Linked DNA regions of Homo sapiens: all the other regions are linked to region 2. The links are contacts of gene promoters, found by promoter capture Hi-C in human tissues and cell types (Jung and others, 2019). All regions are on one chromosome and are shown on one strand. Each heading gives the region's core, a stretch centred on a gene start or on the middle of the fragment in contact. The rest is flanking DNA. Distances are from core to core; before and after follow the strand shown. Region 1 has its middle 3.2 kb from the start of ZNF252P-AS1. Region 2 holds the start of BOP1 (BOP1 ribosomal biogenesis factor). Region 3 holds the start of ZNF250 (zinc finger protein 250).

Region 1 (3,218 bases), core at 560-3,059, 710 kb before region 2:
CTACATGAAATTCATCTGCAAATCCTATTGATGGTACCTTTGAAATGTATCCATAATCTGGCTGCTTTTTGTCACTTCTGCCACCACCAGTCTGGTCCAGGACATTCATCTCTAGCTGGATTGTTGCTAGAACCTTCTGACTGGTTTCCTGTTTTTGTTCCTTACCCCCACCCCATAGTCTATTCAAAGCACCCTCAAAGCAGCAGCTGTAGAGACCACATCTGAGGTCATATGACTCTTCCCAGACATTCCAGGCACTTCCCATCCATTCAGAATAAAACCCATTGCCCTAAGGCTTACAAGGTACCCACCCCAGAGGGTACCCACCTCTTTTACCCTCCCCTAGTCTGTTTGAGCCCCTCTGGCTTCTTTGCCCGTTCTTGAACACAGGTGTGCTTGCATCTCAGAGCCTTTGCACTTGTGCCCTCCTCCTGCCTGGGATGTACCTCACTGATAACCACATGGTGCCTACCCTCACTCCATCCAGATCTCTGATTTGTTGTCACTTTATCGGAGGTGTCTTCCCTGGCCATCCTGTGTAAAATATCTCTTACCACCAGTCGCTGCCCTCGTGCTGCGTCATTAATTTTTTGTATCCTTTGTCATTACCTGACACCACCTGGGCGTTGTGTCTGTGTGTCATGCATATGTGTTAACTTCTCCATTTGCTCATTCGCTGCCTTAGCACCAGAGCCTGGTCCGCTGTTCTCAGCTGTTTGCCGTCTGCGCAGGACCTCATAGGTGGGCCTGGGAAACGCAGTCCATTGTCTCTCCTGGCCAAGTGCACTGCCACAGTCCTGGCTTTCACATGGTGGCCTCAGGATGCTGTCATCCCAGGGGCCTCAGGAAGGCCTCTCTTGAGACATGGAGAGGTATGGCAGAAAATTAGGGAGGGGATATGGTCTCAGAGACCACTGGCTACTTAGTTCATCCACCTTTCCTGGGGTGTTCAGGCAGCTCATAATTGGGTCTCTGCTACCACAAAATGTCTAGGCTTAGAAGTCTCAGAGCACCTATGGGGAGCAGAAGGTTGGTCAGGCTCCATCACCCTCCTCTCCCTACAGCTCTGCCCACACCTCAGGACAAGCTCAGAGACCTAGTGATGGCTGTCATGCAGCTCCTTCTTGGTGGGCTCCAAGTGAGTGGTCCTCATGGAGTCTCTTCCATGTGACCTCAGCCTTTTCTCAGCAGGAGTCTGTCTATAAGGAGCTGGTCCCAGAGGGTGGACAGCTCCCTGTCTCCACCGATGTCCTCAGTTCCTGAGTTCAAGTCCCTGAAATGTACTTCTCACTGTTTTACTGTCCCTGGACCAGGTACAGTAGAGGTCAGAGTTGGGGCACACCAAGATGAGCCAATATAGTGTCTGCCTCAAAGAGTTCACATTAGTGGGGAAGACAGGTACATGTTCCCAGAGGGATTTTACCAGTCCTGAGCCTAATATCTTCTCCCTCCAGGTCCTGACCTGAGGGCTGCATCAAGATCTTGTCATTCCACATCGTGGTTTCCTTTGAGGATGTGGCTGTACCCCTCTCCCAGGAGGAGTGGGACTGTCTGATCCCTGCTCAGAGGGGCCTCTACAAGGATGTGATGATGGGGACCTATGGGAACCTACTCTCATTAGGTAAGTTCCCTCCCTGGGGCTCAGCTCCTGGGCTTCCTGCTCCTTAACCTTGAGGATCAAGCTTGGGGCTCAGAGGCTCCTCACCCCCTGGGCCCAAAGACCAGACATTTTGACCATGGTACCATGCAGGTCTGGTTTGCACAGAGAGGGGGACAGGTGGTACTGGGACCCTCCTTGATTTTTTTTTTTAATAGGCAATGTCTCACTCTGTTGCCCATCCTGGAGTGCAGTGGTGAGACCATAGCTCACTGTAACCTTGACGTCTTTGGTTGAAGAGATCCTCCTACCTCAGCCTCCCAAGTACCTGAGACTACAGGCATGGGCCACCATGCCTGTCTTATTTTACTTTTTTAGAGACAGAGCCTCTGTGTTGCCCAGGTTGGTCTCAAACTCCTAGCCTCAAGGAATCCTCCCACCTTGGCCTCCCATGCCTTTCCAACCCTCCCTGATTTATAGAAGGAGAATATTATTCATTGCACACCTAGTACCTCCCTATCCCCTGAATTAATCTTTCTGCATCTTGATGATCGGTGGTAGGATACACAGTTTATAAACGAACCTGAGGCTAACAAATACTGTCACTTTTCTTAAGTTTACACAGCCTATTGGTGGCAGATCTGGGATATGGATCTGTTCGGTTTCAGAGCCCTGCTTTCCTTTCACTGGAATGTGCTCTTCGCTTTAGCCCTTTTTTTTTTTTTTTTTTGGTTTCTGCTAGCCTTTATTTGAGAAAATTTACACAAAAATCCCCAATGCAACATTTACAAGTGAATCTGTATAAATCCCATATGCCTCTTTCCCAAACTGAAAAATGGCTTTATGACAGGGGTCCATGACAATGGTATAAAAATACTTACTTAAACTGCATCATTCTCATTTATATTATACAGACCATTTTGGATAATATGCTCAAAAGTGGAGGAAAGCACATAACACCCCTGTTTTTAAAGATTATTTGCTCTTGTATCAGTCTTTTGTCAAAGGCAAATACTTTTACTTCTTGGATAAAACCAAGGTATAATATCAATTAACTTTTAAACCAAAAGCACAAAATGTCCTAGTTGATAGTTTTGGCATGAGTAAAGGGAAGGGACATGAGAGAACATCAGCTCCTACAAAGCTTAAGTTTAGGGTCACACTTGGGAACAAAAGCATCAACAAAACAAAATATTCTCTTCTCCTATCTTCTTGACATTTTGTCACATCAGAAGAACATAACTAACAGAGTAGCTTTCATTGCTCCTGAAAAGGGGAAAGGCACCAGTCAGAAATAGGAAAGAAAATCTTGTTAGGTTAATGGTACATGATAGAATTTCACATTAAAAAGTTTAATGATGGAGGATGGGCGTAGTGGCTTACACATGTAATCCCAGCACTTTGGGAGGCTGAGGTCAGTGGATCACTTGAGGTCAGGAGTTCAAGACCATCCCGGCCAACACGGTGAAACTCCATCTCTACCAAAAATACAAAAACCAGCCAGGTGTGGTGGCATGCACCTGCACTCCCAGCCACTCTGGAGGCCGAGGCGGAAGAACTACCCGAACCCAGGAGGTGAAGGTTGCAGCAAGCTGAGATAGCACCATTGCACTTCAGCCTG
Region 2 (3,200 bases), core at 160-2,659:
AAGACCACAGGCAAGCACCACCACGCCCGGCAAATTTTTTGTATTTTTAGTAGAGCTGGGGTTTTGCCATATTGTCCGGGCTGGTCTCGAACTCCTGGCCTCAAGTGATCCACCCGCCTCCGCCTCCCAAAGTGCTGGGATTACAAGCAAGAGTCACCCCACTCGGCCAGTGTGGCCCTTCTTCAGGTCATCACTTGCCAGCCGCAGGCGGTGGCTCTGCCCCTCACCGGACACGACGTCACAGCCGGGATGTGAACAGCAGATTCTGATCTCCAACTCCAGACAATCACTGATTTACTTCTGCAAACCGGAGCTGTCCGGTCTTGCAGGGTCGGACCATGTAAACAAGCCTGCTGCCAGGCAACTGAAGACAGAAACACGAATAAAGATGCCCCATAAGGAATGAAAAACAAAACTCCTCTTGGGAAACCCAGATTTGGGATTCGGAAACGGGCTTGAGATCAACCTGAAGCTTCATGACGTCTTACTGTTTCCACTGCCTTTCCTGTTCCACTACAGCAACGCCCTCCACTTCACGTGCCAAGTCCTGACTTTCTCCTAATAGTTGCCGACCCAGCACCCCGTAGGCTGTCCCCTGGGGACGCCGATGTCCTCTGGGGCATAGCGTCCGCTGGCGAAGCCGGGTGCTTGCCCTAAGCGCGGACACTTCCGCAACCGCCCAACAGTTAGCAGAAGCCCAATACAAGAGACGCCCCATTCTCCCCATCCCAGGGAAACTTCGCTGGGGCAGGGGTTGAACCGAGTGTGGGTCTCGTAGCCGCTTTCCCAACTTAAGGCTCTGGGTCTGAGCAGGCTCGGGACCCGCCGCCCTTCTCTGGCGGGGGCAGGGCAGGCTCACCGCGCGTAAGCTGAAGTGCGGCAGGGCCCCTCCCCGCAGCCCTCCCGCGCCGTCCGCCGCGGCCCTGCTCCCTCCCGGTCCCCACGGGCCCCGCGCCCGCGCGCTGCCCTCACCGGGCTCCAGCAGATGAGCGCGTCGGTGTCCGGGTCGCTCACGAGGGTCCACAGCTTGGTCAGGAAGGCCGGGACGTTGCTGGGCCCCGCCGCGCCGGGGCCCACGGGCAGATCCATCTCGAGCAAGGAGGGAATAGGCGGAGGGAGCGGCCGCAAAGAGGGGCCGAGGGCCGGGCTAACGCCGTCGCCGCGCCAGCCTTCCGGGCCGCGCCGCCGCCCGCTGCGCACACACAGCCCCGGGGCCCAGCATGGCCGCCGCCATCTTGCAACGGGCGCGCTCCCGCCGCCGCCGCTGCCGCCCTCCCGCGTCACCCCCGGCGCGAGCACGCAGGCCCCGACCCCGCCCTGGTCCCCGGCCCAGCCGCGCGCCTGCGCGTGTTGGTCCCACCCCCTTCCCTCCACCCGCCAATCGGGGCCGGGCTGGGCGGGGCGCGTCCTCCTGCGCACGCGGCCCGGTCGCTGTCGGAAGCGGCTGTGCGGGTGGCGGCCGGCGCGCGGTGGGGCATGGCGGGTTCGCGGGGTGCGGGGCGCACGGCGGCGCCGAGCGTGCGGCCGGAGAAGCGGCGGTCTGAGCCCGAACTGGAGCCTGAGCCCGAGCCGGAGGTGACTGTGGCGATGCGGGGCGGCGGGGCGCGTCCCTAGAGGGCCCGGCGGGCACGTGGCCGCGCTGGGGCGGGTGGGCCCGGCTTCTGTCACCTGGGCGCCCGCGCCCAGTGAATCGGTCTTGGGCGTGGGTGCAGCTCCTCTATCGGGGGGTCTCAGGCAGAGCGGACTGCGGGGTAAAGGACGGCGTCCGGGAAGCAAAGAAACGGGGGAGCGGGGAGTGGGGACGGGGCGCCCCTTGCAGCAGCCTCTCCAGCCGTTCCATTTGTGCATCCTGCCAATAAAAGGGCTCGGCTTGCGCTCCCAGTAAATGCTTAACCTACGTATACGCTAGTTAATTGCGTTTTTATGCTCATGGGATAGACATGAGAATAAGAAAACCTGAATAGAACCCAGTGTCTGCTGCATTTGCTGTATTAGAACTCACTGTTGCTCTCTGCTAGCTCAGCCCTGTCTTGGTTGTGGGGATCATCAAATTGGGTGGTGGAGGGGATGGACAGCCAGCCCCTCACAGCCCCCTCGGCCGCGGCCGCGCTGGGTTGTTGAAACTGCCCCATTGCTTTGTGAAGCGAATTCAACTCATCCTGGCTCCCATGGGCTGAATGGCCCGCAGGCCACTCTAGGCGCCAGGTTCTGCGACTTCCACCCTTGGACTAAACGGTCCTCAGGAGCCAGTTGTTTGCGCCCAGGCCACGGATGCCATTTCCACTAGTTATTGTGATTGTGTAGCCGACTGAATACCAAGACACATCATGACTCTGTGTGAGAGAGGCATTGTGTGAACACTCGGTATGCAATAGCTAATACATGCAGGTCGTACCTTAAGTGAGACTTGTAAACTATTAGGAAAACAGTAAAATCTAGAATTCTGCATTCAACTGCTTCCTTTTTCTTTTCTTTTCCTTTTCTTTCTTTTTTCTTTTTTTTTTTTTTGAGACAGAGCCTGGCTCTGTTGCCCAGGCTAGAGTGCAGTGGTGCAGTCTTGGCTCACTGCAGCTTCCACCTCCTGGCTAACTCAGCCTCCTGAGTAGCTGGGATTAGAGGTGCCCGCCACCACCAGCTAATTTTTGTATTTTTAGTAGAGATGGTTTCACCATGTTGGCCAGGCTGGTCTTGAACTCCTGACCTCAGGTGATCCACCCGCCTCAGCCTCCCAAAGTGTTGGGATTACAGGAGTGAGCCACTGTGCCTGGCCTTCAACTGCTTCCTAAGAGTCTAAGTTCTTGTTCCACCCTTTAAGGCCAGTGAAGGACCCGAACACTGTGTGTGCCGGTGTCACGCAGCCAGCAGGGCTCTGCTCAGAGGCAGCTGTGGTCCTGCTCAGAGAGAGGAGTGGGTGGGTTGGTGCGTGGTTGCGGTTAGAGTCTCTATCATTCCTGTGACTCTTCAGCCAATCCTTTCAATTTACTGATCAATCGTTGGTCCCAATCTGGTTAAATGAGGAGGCGTCTGCTTCAGGTGGTAAAAGCCCTTTGGGGACCCATTTCTCTTCCAGCCCCCAGCCCCTTTTCTAGTGACCTCTTGGCTCTGGGGCCTTGGATGCCAGGGTGAGGTGTGGAGAGGGCTCAGGCAGGCTGTCTGAGGGACCCAGTGGAGTCCAGCCCAGCCTGACCCCACAGGGCCTC
Region 3 (3,236 bases), core at 316-2,815, 610 kb before region 2:
AAGAAGACAGGGACATGACCGGAGCTTGAGGGGCGGAACGCTTTCAGAAGGGAAGGGTCCATTATCCTGGAAGATCTGGTGCTGAAACCTGCCATTCCACACCTTACCATAAATGGCCAAGTTTAAAGCCCTCCTATTGAAACCTGCCCGCCAGCACTTCTGTGTGCCAACCTGTCCTCCCTAACCCGTCGACTTTGACCTAAGCCCACATGTGGGAGCCACATTTGAGCCATGCCTCCGGTCTCCTTGGCCGTCGACCTTGAAATAATAAAGCCTTCTCTTTTCTCAAAAACTGGTGCCACCGTTTTGGCTTCTAGTGCGCCAGGCAACGGGCCCATTGCTCGAAACGCGCGTGGTGGATGGTAGCTCCGTGAAGTGCGAACCCCTGCCCGCAAGGGCTGCTAAGTTCGCTGAAGCGTAGCACAGACTTCGCGTCTGCCTGGTGCGCGGCAAGTACGGAATTATCGCCACATCCTCCCGGCCTCCGCTCCCAACAGCACGGGCCGGGCACTCGCTTCAAGCCTACCCCCTAACCTTAAGCCTTCCCCGCCGCCCCCACGCAGCCCCCAGCCCCGCCCTGTGGGGAAGCCTCTTGAGAGTCTGGGCCCGCCCACGCGCCCAATGGACGACGCGGACCTGACCTTCGGGAGTGGGGCCAGCAGAAGGTGGACTAGGCGTCAGCCTTCCCGTCCCCTGACACCGCTCCAAACCAGCCCCACCCTCCCTGCCGCGGCTGTCAGGTCCTGGGCTGTGCCCGAAGCCTCCACACGGGTGTGGCCCGCGCCCTCGTGAAGGCCCGCCCCTCTCCCCCAGGTGCGCGGTGTAAACACACCAAAAAGCAAACACCAGGGCCGAGTGGGCGACGGAGACGGTCGCTGTTCAGTGACGCCCCCTGTCGGGAGCACGCCGGGCCGGACACAGCGAAGAGCGGCTGCGCCTCGGACCTCGCAGCACTCAGCCTCCTAAGTGGGAGGAATAACCTCACGCAAGTCATCAAACAAGAGGACTTCAGTGTTGCAACGAAGGAAGAGAAAGGGCCCCTGAGAAGGCGACATTCGCACTGCAGCGGCGCAGGGACCAGCCAGGCGGCTGAGGGCAAGGTCGTTCCCAGCAGCGGGAACCGCAAGGGCAAAAGGCTCGGAGGGGGGAACGAGCTCGAGTTCCAGGACGGCCGAAGCCAGCGCAAGTCGAGGAGGGACTGCGGGGCCGGCAGGGGTGTCCTCCACAGGGCGACGGCGGCAGGAGCTCGGGAACCGGGACTGCGAGCGGGTAAGGCTCGGCGATGGGCTGTAACCTCCGCGCCCGGAAGTGCGGCCGGGGAGCCGGCCGGGCCCATTGCCCAGAGGTGTTCGGCCCCTCTAGGGATCGCGGAGGTCTGGCTCTCGGTGGCTCCTGAGAGCTCCCTGCAGTCGGTCACCGAGAAAGGCTTCGGGCGGGCAGGCGGGCCAAATGACGTAAACATGCTTGCCCTCCAGGATTGGCGAACTCGGCTGTGGGGGCGGGAACTGAGGGGCAGGAGCCCCCAGGGATTGGCGGCTGCGCAGACGGGGCGGGGCAGCCCTTTGTCTGAAGGTGCTGCGGGATGCCGTTCCTTCGCGCGTGAGGCTGCGGCTCTGACGGTGAGTGGGGGGCGCGTGTCGTCGCCGGCCAGGACCCTCTCCCATCACGGACACCGGAGCCGGTGCGTCCTCCACACGAATCGTGGACTCTTCCCCGCGAGCACGCACTGCCTCCTGCGTTTACGCTGGTCCCCTCCCCTCACGGACGCGCGGCGGCCTCCTCCCCAGGGCCAAGGCCGCGCCCTCTCCCCCGTTCGGGGTTCCCACCCTTCCCCTCGCCCGGCCTTGGACCCCCTCAGGCCCTCCCGCACCCCCGTCCGCCTCGGACGGCCTCGGTCCCTTCCCCGCCCCTACCCCCTTGGGCCCCGTCAGACCGGCGTCCCTCCCACCTTGGATCTCCTCAGATCTCCGGCCTTCCTCCCCCTCGTGCCCTCCCGCGCGCTTTCTACCGGGCGCCGTGCCTAGGGCCAGGATGGCCGGAGTCCTAGGGGCGCAGTCCGGACCCCCGGGCCGCTCTTCTTGCCGCGCTCCTCGGGGTCTCGCGTCCCCTGGGATGGGCCCGGAAAGGGGTGGGGAGCTTCCCCAAAATATAAAAATGGAGGTTTTTTCTGTTTGATGCACATCCTGAGGAGCCCCATGAAGACCCCGGCGGCGCACCGGGAGCGCCACTTTACTTAGCTATAAAAAGTCTTCCCGCGTCAAGACGAAAACGAGCTGCTTTCGTTTCAGCAGTTGGTCGAGTGTGCTACTTGCCGGGTGTCTTATCCTCTCCCCATTTTGCTGTCGATGCTGTCTTTTCTGTTACTGTGTTAGAGCCCTATTTTAATGAATGAGCCCAACTCTTTGCAACACAGCAAATATTTTCCTTGTTGTTTATTGGCTTAATTTTAAAATTGAAAATAATATGCAATACTTCTTCTAATGCAGGCATGTCAGAAATATATAAAAGTCATCCCCCCCGACACTCTGCCAGTGTATGAAGAGGCAGGAGCTGTGAACAGTTTCAGAATTTTTGAATGCCGTTAGAGCTTTAGGCACGCACGCACACCCTTTTTTCTGTCATCAAAGGGAAGCTGGTGTCGTTTGACTAACACCAGGGGCGGCAGGGGGCGCTCCACTCGTCCTCCGCCGGGTGGGTACTCGCAGATTTTTCAGTTCGTAACTTGTCTTCTGGACATAGGTTTCTCTGTCCGGTGGTCTCTACGAAGTGGGTAAGGGTGGGAGATTGCCATTGACATTCCCGCCCTGGACGGGACTCTGGTCCTGTGGGCTTTGACAGGTCACTGCATTCCTGCCAGGTCGACGTTTTGCGTTTATTGGTGAGATTGAAATCCCTTCATTTGTGTTTTCGCCATTTGTATTTCTTTGTGATTTGCCAGCTCATATTTTTTTCCATGTATGTTGAAAACATGCTTCTCAATTTGTCTTTTGACTCTGATTATGGTGTTTGATTCTGGTTTGGGCTTTTTCAAAATAGAAAATTTAAAATTTTTAGGAGTCAAATATTTTGCCTTAAGGCATTTTGGGCTTTGTGCTGTGTTTTAAAGGGCTTTCCCCACTCCAAGATTATTTTTAAAATAAACTCTTGTTTTTCTGTGGTACTTGTAAAATGTTGGATACGTCTGGAATTTATTTTATTGTGGGGTGAGTTTGGAATACAGCTTTTGGAATTCCTTT

Evidence for each region. The method cuts DNA at HindIII sites, captures the fragments that hold promoters and counts their contacts. A contact is called where the count stands out against the background at its distance.
Region 1: a contact is called between a fragment that was not itself captured here and the fragment with the promoter of BOP1 in region 2, in 1 of the 25 tissues and cell types used here (spleen).
Region 3: a contact is called between the fragment with the promoter of ZNF250 here and the fragment with the promoter of BOP1 in region 2, in 1 of the 25 tissues and cell types used here (spleen).

The regions. Positions count from the first base shown.
Region 1 is chr8:144,998,006-145,001,223 of GRCh38, reverse strand. It overlaps the pseudogene ZNF252P and the pseudogene TMED10P1. Among named protein-coding and RNA genes, the nearest start is that of ZNF252P-AS1, 3.2 kb to the left of the region's middle. The HindIII fragment of the contact is 5,765 bases long and covers 1-3,218 here.
Region 2 is chr8:144,289,647-144,292,846 of GRCh38, reverse strand. It overlaps BOP1 (BOP1 ribosomal biogenesis factor), which reads left to right and starts at 1,409. Exons shown (of 16, transcript NM_015201.5): 1 at 1,409-1,575. The coding sequence starts at 1,477. HSF1 (heat shock transcription factor 1) reads right to left here and starts at 1,243. Exons shown (of 13, transcript NM_005526.4): 1 at 973-1,243. The coding sequence starts at 1,089. RefSeq lists enhancers at 446-505, 108-764 and silencers at 896-1,055, 1,166-1,665. The HindIII fragment of the contact is 19,250 bases long and covers 1-3,200 here.
Region 3 is chr8:144,899,782-144,903,017 of GRCh38, reverse strand. ZNF250 (zinc finger protein 250) reads left to right here and starts at 1,565. Exons shown (of 6, transcript NM_001109689.4): 1 at 1,565-1,619. LOC124902042 reads right to left here and starts at 1,394. Exons shown (of 1, transcript XM_047422534.1): 1 at 737-1,394. The coding sequence starts at 1,336. The coding sequence ends at 737. RefSeq lists silencers at 632-711, 1,772-1,881 and enhancers at 408-1,011, 1,012-1,614, 1,615-2,219. The HindIII fragment of the contact is 10,274 bases long and covers 1-3,236 here.